Regions from separate parts of the Homo sapiens genome. Here region 2 is linked to region 1. Evidence: promoter capture Hi-C in human tissues and cell types (Jung and others, 2019). All regions are on one chromosome and are shown on one strand. The core of a region is centred on a gene start or on the middle of the fragment in contact, and the rest is flanking DNA. Distances in the headings are between cores, read along the strand shown.

What was found. The method cuts DNA at HindIII sites, captures the fragments that hold promoters and counts their contacts. A contact is called where the count stands out against the background at its distance.
Region 2: a contact is called between a fragment that was not itself captured here and the fragment with the promoter of CLEC19A in region 1, in 1 of the 25 tissues and cell types used here (dorsolateral prefrontal cortex).

Annotation. Positions count from the first base shown.
Region 1 is chr16:19,281,788-19,287,990 of GRCh38, forward strand. It overlaps CLEC19A (C-type lectin domain containing 19A), which reads left to right and starts at 3,944. Exons shown (of 5, transcript NM_001256720.2): 1 at 3,944-4,152. The coding sequence starts at 4,065. The HindIII fragment of the contact is 9,003 bases long and covers 2,646-6,203 here.
Region 2 is chr16:18,802,543-18,808,745 of GRCh38, forward strand. It overlaps SMG1 (SMG1 nonsense mediated mRNA decay associated PI3K related kinase), which reads right to left. Exons shown (of 63, transcript NM_015092.5): 63 at 2,318-6,203. Among named protein-coding and RNA genes, the nearest start is that of ARL6IP1, 4.1 kb to the left of the region's middle. The HindIII fragment of the contact is 3,839 bases long and covers 1,597-5,435 here.

The DNA of each region.
Region 1 (6,203 bases), core at 2,694-5,193:
TAATCAGCATATAATCACACAGCAACAGGTCTGGAGTCTGAACAACAATGCATCTGAATTGAAAGCCATGAAATGAACTGGCATCTATTGCCTCTTTTATAATTGTGGTGAAGGGGTAAGGGACTTTGTTTAATTGATAAACAACATTTTTTAAAAGCTAATAAATTAAGGGAGATAGATGATTGACAGATAAATAGATGATAGAGATTAGATAGACAGACAGACAGAGGGAGAGAGATAAAAGAGAGAGAGAGGGAGAATCTTAATGGAACTTCAAGATGCCATGAACACAGTGTATGTATTGGGAGAGAGAAAAGATAGGCCACCACTCAATAAATACAACTTTAAGAAGCCAGAAAATACATACGGTGTAACAAAGAGACGCCTACAACCTCCAAATGACAGCAAAGATCATATTTGTTAAGTGAAGAAATTGTTTACTTTCTGGCCAGAAAGCTTGAGGTCTAGAACAGGGATTGGCAGGTGACAGCCCGTGGGCCAAATCTGGCCCCTTGCCTATTTTTGTAAATAAAGTTTTATTGGCACACTGCCTGGTCCAGTCCTGTATTTCTGGCAGAGTTGAGTAGTTGTGACAGAGGCTGTGTAGCCCACAAGTCCTAAAATATTTACTGTCTACCTCTTTTTTTTTTTTTTTGACAGAGTCTCACTCTGTCACCCAGACTAAAGTGCAGACACCATCTTGGCTCACTGCAGCCTCAAGCTCCTGGGCCCAAGCGAACCCCCTGCCTCAGCCTCCCAAGTAGCTGGGACTACAGGTGTGCACCACCACACCTGGCTAAGACTTTATTTTTTAAGTAGAGATGGGGTCTCACCATGTTGCCCAGGATGGCCTCAAACTCCTGGCCTCAAGCAATCCTCCCACCTCAGCATCCCAAAGTGCTAGAATATAAGCATAAGCCACTGTGCCTGGCCTGTCTGGTTCTTTATAGAAAAAGTTCCCTACCCTGTCCAGAGCAGGGTTTCATAAACTTTAATATACACACAACCCACCTGGGACGCAGAATTGATTCAGCAGGTCTTGGGGGGCCTGAGATTCTGCATTTCTAATGTGCTACCAGGAGATCCCCGTGCTGCTGGCCCATTGACCATACTTGTGTTTGAGCAAGTAACAAATATCTTGTGTGTCTCCATTCAGAGAGGGTACATGAACTGATTTATAAAAACCTTCAGGCATCAAAATACAACACAGATAATTTAGGAGGTTTATTTGCCAAATCAAAGGATTCTCCACTTTTTAGAAGGATTTCTAGTGGCCTGCTTTGGACCACTCTTCTCCTTCCCACTTAATGTGTCCACACCCAGAGAGACATTGCTATGGTTTGAATGTCTGTCCCCTCCAAAACTCAAGTTGAAATTTAATTGTCATTGTGATGATATTGGGAGGCGGGACTGGTACTGAGTAATCAATGGGCTTGCTACCCAATGTGCCCAGAGGCCAATATCATGGCACTGGCTTTTAAGAAGAGAAAAGCTTTATTGCTAGTCAGCTGGCAAGGAGACAGGAGGAAAGGCTCAAATCTGTCTCCCCACGCTAGGGTTTGGGTCAGGTTTTATAAGCATAGGGTAATGAGGCATGATCTGATTGGATCTTGCAATGAGATGATGTGGGGAGGCATGACCTGATTGGATCCTGCCATGGGGTAACGTCAGAGCTCAATCCGATTGGATTCTGGATCCTGCCATGTAGTGTCTGCTTCTGAATTCAGTCCCTGCTCCTCAGTCTGAGCACTTAGGTTCCCCCTGTGGTTGCACACTTGGTTCATCTGGGCATGCTCAGGTTACATGACCTTCAATCTGAGGGTCCATGGCAAATGAAAAACAACTCACAACTTTGTTACGTAAAAGTTGAACTAGACTGGTCCGATGAGGTTACAGGACTTTTAAGAGGTGTCTGGGTTATAAGAGCTCTTCCCTCATACATGGATCAAAGATGTTATCACAAGAGTAGCTCAGGTATGGCAGGAGTGGGTTCATCCCCTCTTTAAAAAGCTCTGTCTCTCTCTCTCTGTGACTCATCTCTCTTTTACCCTCTCACTATCCACCATATGATGACTCAGCAAGAAAGCCCTCACCAGATGCCAACACCTTGATCTTGGCCTTCCCTGTCTCTAGAACTGTGAACCAATAAATTCTGTTCATTATAAATTACCAGTCTCAGGTGTTCTAGTATAGCAGCACAAAACAGACTAAGATAGACACTTTTAAATTCCAAGCAGCACCCAGGAACATGACAGCAGGAGCCCCCAAATTTCAGCTTGCAAGATGATAGGGAGTAGGGAGAAAATATCCAAACTTTCTTCCACATTTATATCTTTTATCAACCTTTAATAATGTCCAATGTGGGTGTGTGTGTTTTATAACAGAAATAATATATTAGTACAGTGAGTCGTACCTGCACATCACTTATAAACATGTAATAAATATATCCCATTTATAAATAAGTAAGTGTGCATGCTCTGGGATATGCACCAGTACACTAGTTTTGAGGCAACAGATCTACCCGAGGAGGCATCCTGTAGGTTGAAGCTGAGCCTGAGCTGTGCTCATATTCTGAGTCAGACCTTGGCAGACTTTCAGCTCCAGTGCCAGCAGGCAAGGCAAGCTGTGTGGGCACAAGTTAAGTTATTTCTCACAAGCACAGCAGCAGGTGTTCCAGAAAGACTTGGAAGCCAAACAGACACATTCCAGTCCCTGTGAGTGCCAGCCACATGAGGTGTCAGGGCACCTGGCAGAGCATTTCTGGAGAGGAATAAGGGAGTGCAGGGGCAGGGGATGTGGGTGATGCCAAGGAAAGCCTTGCACTAGATCAATGACAACAATAGCAAATGTTGCTGTCATTTATTGAGCACCTACTACTTGCCAGCATCTATGCCAAGTTTTAGAAACAAATTACTTCATTTAATCCTTGTGAGGTAGGTACTCTACTTATCCCCCATTTTACAGAGGAGGCAACTGAGGTTCAGAGAGGCAAAGTGACTTGTCTAAGGACACAGAAAGTGGGGGAGAAAGACTGTGGTTTTTAGAAATATTGATTCTCCAAAAGAGCGATGAGATCCCAATGAAAACACTAGGGGTTTTTAAACATTGAATTCTGAGCAAGCCACACAGTAGAGCTATGCACTAGTGATGACACTTGCACCTCTTTGTGGAGCACTTATTCTGTGCAACACTCTGTTGAATCTTCTACAGATGCCTCCTTTAACCCCCGGAGGAACCCTGAGAGACCCTGAGAGGTGAAGGGAGAGGAAAGGAGGCTGACTCACACAGGCTTCCTGGTGCTTCCTCAGCGGTGGATGCTGTCAGGATCAGACCCATGGGGTGGAGACCTTGGTGAACCGAAGCTCAAAGAGCCTGGCTGAAAGAGATGCTCTTTCTCAGCTCCATGCAATTGTTGCCCTGTAGAAATGAGGGCTATGTTTCGTTAGGTCTTCCGATTTTCCAATAGAAGGCAGAAATCCGGACTTATACCTAGCATCTCTTGGTTTTATACCTTAACAAATTTTTTAGAATTTAAAACTCTGCAGACCAAACAAATGACATCCATGGCCCAGGAGACCTCTGCGCTCAATGCTTACTTGCAGTAATTTTACCTTCCAGTACATATCTACTCTGAGGGAGGTGAGATGCTTTGTCTCCTGTGACAGGCTGGAATGTGAGTTTCGTTACCATCCCATTTTACAGAGGGGGAAACTGAGTCTCAGAGAAGTGCACACCCAAGGCCACAGCGTGACTCAGAGACAAGACTGAGAGCTAAATTTTGTCTTGGTTCAGAGGCAAGCTTGGGAGCTAAAATGTCTCTTGGTTCTTTGAGGGGGGCTGGCCTAGGCTGCTTTGCTTTCAGCTGTCATTCTGAGCTGTCTCCAACAGTGTGAAGAGGAGGGAGGAGAAAAGGAAGAAAAGAGGAGGGGACTGGAGTCCATCCAGTCTGTCCCAGCTCCTGCCAGGCTCCATCTGACCCTAGGAGAGCAATCCTGGACCCAAGCTCCAGCCAAAAAGCCTCTCTCCTCCACTCAGGCTGGGAGGTTGCTTTCTAGGAGCTCAGGATGCAAAGGTGGACACTGTGGGCTGCAGCCTTCCTGACCCTCCACTCTGCACAGGCCTTTCCACAAACAGACATCAGTATCAGTCCAGGTAAGTGCAGGGACCAGGGCTGGGAGCAGGTGGAGAGGAGTACACTCTCAGGAACTTATTCTATCGGTGAGGCCTGGCAGCTTCTGTTGGGGGGTTGGGGTGGCCTGACCCGAGTCTCCTGACAGCTTTCCCCCTACCAGCTTTGTCATGGGCACTCTTCTAGGCCCAGACACAAAAAGTCCTGGGTTTGAATCCCAGTTTTGCAGTTTACAAGCTGTGTGACATAGAGGAAGTTTCTTGATCTCTCTGAGCCTCAGCTTCTTCTAGAAAGTTGGGTCGCAATGGCATTCTCTTTGGGCTACTGTGCAAGGCAGATAAGATAACATGAGGAAAGTGCTTTGCACAGTGTCTGGCACTACAGGAAGATCTGAACATGGTAGTTTTGTGAGGGATTTGGCATCTGGGCCCCAACCCCACCTTGGCTGTGACAGCCTTCCCAGGGAGCTTTCAGAGCTGCTGCAGTGCCACCAGAGGTTAGGTGCGCAGGGAGGGAGACTTGTCCCTCTAATGGCCTCCCTGGAGGCCTGGCCCAGCAACCCCCAGCCTTGTGGGGCATCCCCAGGGATGAGAACCTGTCAGCCTTGGGCATGTGGCCTCCCAGTGTCCCATATGGAGGGTGAGGGTCTTCAAATGAGCTCAACTTCTTCCACTTTGCAATAGGAAGGCTGGGTTACTGATTCTGGGGGACCCTCATCTGGATGAGAAGAGTTCTGAATCCTATAATTTGGTGGCCAAGAGTCTTGACTGTCACCTCTACCAGGTTCTTTCCAGGCTTGTTTATGTTCATATATGGATTTATTTATCATAGCAGTGGCAGAGATATCATTTTTAAATCCCCGTTCAAGTAAAACTAATAATGAAATACCTAGATGGAGATTCTCATAAGGCCAAATTATTGGGTTGTGATAGTGTTAGAGTGACTTTAAACAGAGGGTTGATAGGGTTGTCAGATAAAATACCAATAAATAAATATTAATAAATTATTTCTTAGTGTAAGCATGCCCCAAATATTACATGGGACGTATTTATACTAAAAATTATCTGTTTGTTTACCTGAAATCAAATTTAACTAGGTATCCTTCTTTTTTTTTTTTTTTTTTGTTAATCTAGCATCCCTAGTGGTAACAATAAGGGATAGTCTTAGCTCATTTGGGCAAGGGGTTTCAGTTCTGTCCTAAACTCTCTGAGTGTATTCATCAGCTCAGGCTGCGAATATCACAGACTGGGGAGCTTAAGCAACAAACATTTATTTCTCACAGTTCTGGAGGCTGGGAAGTTCAAGATCAGGATGCCAGCAGATTTTATTCCTGGTGAGGACTCTCTTCCTGGCTTGCAGATGGCCGCCTTCTCACTGTACCCTCACATGGCAGAGTAAGAGAAAGCTCTGGTCTCTTCCTCTTATAAGCACACTAATCCCATCATAAGGATGGGATCCCATCTAAATCTAATCACTTCCCAAAGGTCCCCCCTCCCAATACCATCACATTGGGAGTCAGAGCTTTAACATATGAATTGGGGGCAGGGAAGAGGAGAGACACAGACATTCCATTCATAGCAGTGACTTGCCTCCTTACTCTCGGACCTCAGTTTCCTCACCAATACAATAAGCAAGTAGGAAAGAAGTTGAACAAAATATCCTTGCAGACTGCGCCTCGTATATCCCAAGATCTTGCCTTTCTGCCCAGCAAAAGTGGGAAGGGGCCAAGACTGAGTTTGAAAGCGGGAGTAACTAGGGGTATTTTCTGTCCTTCACTAGCTTGTGCCCATGGGACCTCTCTGAGACTCAAGTTTCCTCACCTCTCTGAGCCCCAAGTGGGGATAACAAGGGTCCTTATCAAGGGTTTTGGAGATCTTCAATGAGCTCGTGCAGGTGAAGTGCTTAGCACATAGGAAGCATTTAAAAAATGAGTTATTGCCATTACTATGTTTGCCACTGTGGTTGTTGATGTTATACTAGAATTGGCCAGGAGACAGTTTTCTATTCTGACAAAAGTCTTCAACATTGAAAGGAACTTCTGAACATCAGTCCCCAAGCCTCATCCCTACTCTAT
Region 2 (6,203 bases), core at 2,266-4,765, 480 kb before region 1:
CCAAAGTGCTAGGATTACAGGCGTGAGCCACCGCGCCCGGCCAGAATTGTTTGTTTGTTTGTTTGAGACGAAGGAGTCTCGCGCTCCGTGGCCCCGGCTGAAGTGCAGTGGCGCGATCTCTGCTCACTGTAACCTCCATCTCCCGGGTTCAAGTGATCCTGGCGCGTCAGCCTCCCGAGTAGCTGGAATTACAGACGCCCGTCACTACGCCCGGCTAATTTTTGTATTTTAATAGAGACGGGGTTTCGCTATTTTGGCCAGGGTGGTCTGGACCTCCTGACCTCAAGATATCCGCCCGCCTTAGCCTGCCAAAGTGCTGGGATTACAGGCGTGAGCTACCGCGCCCGGCCAAAAGGATAGTTCTTGACACGACCTTTCTTCCATTAGAGGTCAAGCTAAGAAAATATGTAAACCCTCTCACAAGCAGTAGAATTCCTAGGCAGTTTAGGAACTGTGTTGAGGCACTTGTACATCTTTTCTATCCAGGATTTCAAATGCAGTAACAAGTGCTTTGATCTTTTTTTTTTTTTTTTTTTTTTTTTTTTCTTTTTTTCTTGAGACACAGCCTGGCTCTGTTGCCCAGGCTGTAGTGCAGTAGCCACCGCGCCCGGCCGATTTTTCATCGTTTGATACAAACAGAATCATGCCAAATGTCCGGATCAGATGTTTGTTTCAGGTGAATTAACTATAGTTTTAACTTCCAACCTTTTATCTTTTTTACAGGTTTTAACTTCCAATCTCATGGTCATTTGTATTCGGCCATTGAATTTAAATTTATTTTTAAAATGTTCCTTAAGTAACCACCAGGTTCTTAAATGTTCAAGGAAGTCATAAATGTGAGAGAACATAGCTGCAGACCACATACTGCCCCTAAGAGAGCTGGGCAAGGGCAGGAGCATTGTGAATTTCATGGAAGGGTGTCAATTTGCTGTGGGTCTTTCGGGGAAAGGGGAGTGAAGTATCTGAATCAGGGAGAAGCACTTGAAAAAAAGTCTTTGCAAGGGAAGCTGACTGTTCAATAAAGTGCCACTTTGGAGAATGTTGGGGTAAAGAAGTTGTAAAGGCAGGATACAGCCAGTTGACAGAGACGCTATTTGGAGAGATTTTAAAGCTATGGAGTCTGAGGAGCAGGTTCTTCTCCACGCCCCTAAAAAAAAAAAAATACAAATGGGGAGGCAGGGAAGATCCCTTGAGCCCAGGAAATAGAGGCTGCAGTGAGCTATGATTGCACCTATGCACTTAAGCTTGGGTGACAGAGCAAAAAACCTGTCTCAAAAAAAAAAAAAAAAAAAAAAGTCAAAAAGATCGAAGCAATCAGCAGCCACATAATTAGTGAATATGTTGAGCACTGGGTATGTGATCTTGCTAGACCCACAGTAATAGCCACTTCCAAAAGAGAGGGTATTTTATTAGGGTTTAAAACTGACATTTCTACTTTTGGGAAATCAGCTTTTGCTGCAGAATATGCTTCTTGTTTTCACCCAAGTTTTCCATGCACAACTTAAGACTTGTTAACACCAGCTTGTGAAATGAAGGTAGGTGAAAAAAACAGAAGCAACTGAAACAGCAGTTTCTCCACTTAGTATTTTTTGTTACTTAACAATGTATTCCCATACCTATTTCTAAATGCACAGCCCTGCTATATGGTCTCTCACTAAATTTCCGATTGGTCTAATTATTAAAAAACACCCACCCTTAACATAGCTTTCTTTAGAGCTTTGTTTTTGTCCTACAGAGACAGGATGTGATCTTTTGAAATGTGCCAGATGACTAAGCAGTTAACACAAATCTTACTAACTTCATTTAGCAGCAACAAATGCAATCTCCAAGATATAAAGCCAAGCTGGACATTTTCTATTTTTTTTCAGAGGTTTCACACTCCAAGGAATGCACCTATCTGTCAATAATGATCTACGGGAATTTTGTTTTTAAATACTGCCAAAATTAAGCTTTATAAATTGGGCCTTAACACAAAGAATTTTATCGTTGAAGTAGAATTTCTACTGCTATTCAAAAATACAACAGATGTTTGAGAATAAAATAGTTACTTTTCTGAGAATTTAGGGGTCTTTTTTGAGGTATTAGTGCTATTCAGAAAAAAAAGACTAGGCTTGGCTCGGCTTAGTGGCTCAGGCTTGTAATCCCAGCACTTTGGGAGGCTGAAGTGGGAGTGTAACTTGAGCCCAGGAGTTCGAGATCAGCCTGGGCAACATAGGGAGACCCTGTCGTTTTGTTTTTTCAAGCTACCCAGGTTCCAAAAGGTTTCAAGTTTTCCAAAATCTATTTTGACCAATAAATTCAGAACTTAAATGCTGTATCTTTTGAGACTGAACCTTTATTTTCTGAAAAACAGGTATTTCATACAATCTTTGCCATGTTAATGCAAATATGCACAAAGTAGGCATGTATTTGTTTTCCAAAAGATGCATTATGAACATTTTCAGGAAGCTGGTGTGATTTATTCAACTTTTAAATACAATCACAAAATTATATCCATCAGGAGGCATTACAACCTTTTGTACAGAAAAGCCACTATTTATACATTGTTACTAAGACAAGGAAGATTCAGTTCAACTCAACTTGCTCTTAGAATAAGGGTAAAAAGTAAATTAACAAGTAAGTGAAGTATGATGTTGTTGCCACTGACATTACAGGTGGAAATATAAGGGAAATTTAAACCAGAAAAATGACACAATAACTTTAAAGAGGAGCTGAAACTTTGTCAAAAAAAGAAAAAACTATTAGCCTGTTTTCAAAGAAAAACATTCTAAAAGTGTGCATTTCAGAACATAGAATTCTTCTAAGTTTACCATCTTCAAAAATCTTCTAAATTGTATGACACTTTTACATTAGCACAACAAACAGCTTTTTCTAAGTCTAGCCAAGTTCCCATGGAAGGCAAACGACCCTAAGTAGTTCATATTTTACAGCCCTTGAACTTATAAAGCTTTTCTCATTAAGAGTCAGTTTTACCCTTCTGTAAATAAGGATGGTGATACTGTTATCCAGGCCTAAAAAGCAGGAAGTGCAACAAACCCTTAGGGTTTCATGATACAGTGAATTTTCCCCTCCCCAACGTTTGGAAAAAATTGGGACACTTGCTAGTTCTTCCCTGTGGGAAGAATCTTTCTAATATTACCCAAATATTGAAAACAAAATCTACCTTCTTTAACCCTTGTATTAGTAATTCTACCTCCTTGGCTTATGGGGGGAAAAGTCCTAGTTTTAAATTGCTGGCATTTTACAAGCTCAACAAGATAAAAAATTGAACACTGGTTTTCATACTCTAATTTTATGTAAAACAAAGATGCTTAAATGTGCGAATAGTAAAGCATTCACTGATATTTGATGTATCTGAATAGGACTAACAGGCTAATTGTAGGTGCTTTCATATGAAAATAATTGGGAGAAAAGAAGAACCAGCTCCTTTGATTTCAGTACTGCCAAAACAAGTAAGCCCCCAGAGTTAATTACAAAAATGTAGAGGAAAATAGGCCCGGAAGACTTTGCAATTTAAAGTACTGCCTATAATACCCCAGATTAAAAAGGACCGAAGATTGCACATCAAGTCTAATATTTGGCTGTACTTGCATTGCCCTGCTCGGCATTTTTAAAAAATGGCTCTTTCCTTAAATTTCACACGTCAGAACAACCACAATTAAAAAAACAAAAAACAATGCAGATAACACCAAACATTGGACAATATTAAGAAAACTACTTACTAAGCTTAGGTAATAGAGGCAAGGGTTAAGGGCAGAAGTGATGGAAGTGTTTCTTTGTATTACAAACCCTCACCCTAAACCTGGGGTTTGGGCTCTAAAAAAGTAATTTAGGGAAGCAGATCAAGAGCCTGATTATCAGTTCTCACATGGAAATCTCAACAGATTTCAAAAGCAACTCACCACAAGTGTCAGACACAAAAGAATCTTAATAATCATCTAGCAAACTACACTAAGAACTCAATGACCAAAAATAATCAATCAAACTTCAAGACACACCAAAGCAACAGTAAAAGAGAAATAACTACACAAGCTAAGCTCTGTAGAGAAATCAACTAAAAATTAGGCAATTCTAGTAAATTAAAGACAGCAAAAAACTTAAGATTGAACTTCAATTTCCAAGGGTACTTTGAAGAGGTTGTTTGTAGGTTATTCTGTACCCCCTGATTCTTAAAGAAAGTGGAGGAGAGGGGGAGGCGACAGAGGAATGGAGGGAAAGGGGGAGGCAAGAGAGAGAAACAGGAGAGGATCCCTGGTTTTCCACAGGTATTTTATCAAAAATGTATGACTTCATAACTACAGCACTCTAACTTTTCTCAGTCTAACTGCTGAGGTCTCTTACGAAAGTTCAAATGGCAAGTCACCTTGTAGAATGACTTAACAGAGGAAGCCAAACTATACAGACCAGGGCCTTGTCCAGAGTGCAGTAAGGAGCAGGCTTTTGAAGTCATCTATTACATCTGCCTTACAACCAAACCCACTGTGTATGCCACATTATTCTTGGAGGGACCACTTTAAAACAAAAGTGATGGATAATTTACCAGAGGCACATGCTTTTGAAGTAAAGCTGTTTTTTGTTTTTGCTTGAGTAAGGTGCCAGGTACCTCTGAAGCCTGAAAACACAGGCAATAAAATTCACCTATTTATCTTCTTTACCAAAGAGAAAGCAATTTCTGAATACTATCTATAGTGCTAAACTAATGTGAACTGACTATCATTGCGATAAAAGTTTTTCCTTATGATGACAATAAAGAATGTTGCTGAAAGACTTTAATCTTGAGAGAGCAGAGGTAATGTGATGAATGTAATTTGCTCCCAGAGCCTCTAGAAAATAAAGCAGTGTGCAAAATACAATATGGCATTATTATTCCAGCTAGGTTTTTTGCGAAAATAAGGTTCCAAATGAATGAAGAAAACAAAATTTGATGCGCTAGGTTCCTTAACTTGCTATTGGACACATGGGTATTTCAAAAAAATCCACCGTGCCTACAATACTTGTTAAAGTACCAAAAAAGCACTGATACTGAAACACATTCTTTCATGGGTACTTAACGATTACAGATTAACGTGGCAATCAGAATACAAAAAAGGCCCAGAGCTATGTGGAATTTTTTCCTTAATACCTTTCAAGTTTGTCTGTGAAGACGGCAACTAGAAAGTGACCACTGTCCTAATCTCTAAAATGCAGGGAAAATGTACTCAAACAATTTTTTTTTTTATCTAGTCATTTATTTTTGACACAGAGTCTAGCTCTGTTGCCCAGGCTGGAGTGCAGTGGCACAATCTCGGCTCACTGCAAGCTCCGCCTCCTGGGTTCACGCCATTCTCCTGCCTCAGCCTCCCGAGTAGCTGGGACTACAGGCGCCCGCCACCACGCCCGGCTAATTTTTTTTGTATTTTTAGTAAAGACGGGGTTTCACCGTGTTAGCCAGGATGGTCTCGCTCTCCTAACCTCATGATCCGCCCGCCTCGGCCTCCCAAAGTGCTGGGATTACAGGCGTGAGCCACTGTGCCCAGCCAACAATTAAGATTTTAATTGTGTTCTATTTTGTATTGATACTTGATTTTAAGAACCCTATTCTAGTCTGGGTTTTTATTTTGGATCAGCAATTTAGCTTACACAGTCAGTACTGAAATGCAATGCTAAATTTAAGGAAACCTTGATCATGAATTCACTATAATGTATTACTGAATAGCAAGCTATTAAAATTGTGCAAAAAGTAAAGCACTTCACAGACTAATAACTGAACTTAATAAAAGATGTTGGTGGATCTCATTTTCACTGTTTCATGTACATGTCCTAAAATGCCAAGTAAATTAAACAACTTTTAATTTACTAAGTGTAAATTAAAAGTATCAAATGAAAAACATGAATTAAAAAAATTTCAGTCTACCTCCACCAGAACATCACTTTATTGTTAATCTATCATCAACAATGTAAAACTCTAATAGATACTCTATCTTGGTTTTTAAAAAGGTAAAAGATTACACTGGATTAGCTACTTTCTATGAAAGAAACTACAGCTATCACAGAAGAGGGAAAATTTGAATGACCTCCAAAAAAAATGCACACTATAAGCAAAAGGGAGTGTACATTAAATCAAATGTCTGTTAGATTCATTACTTTTGAATGCACAGTGACAATTCTGGAAACTGTACATGATAGAATCACAGAAATGACTTAAATAACCGGAATTACATTTT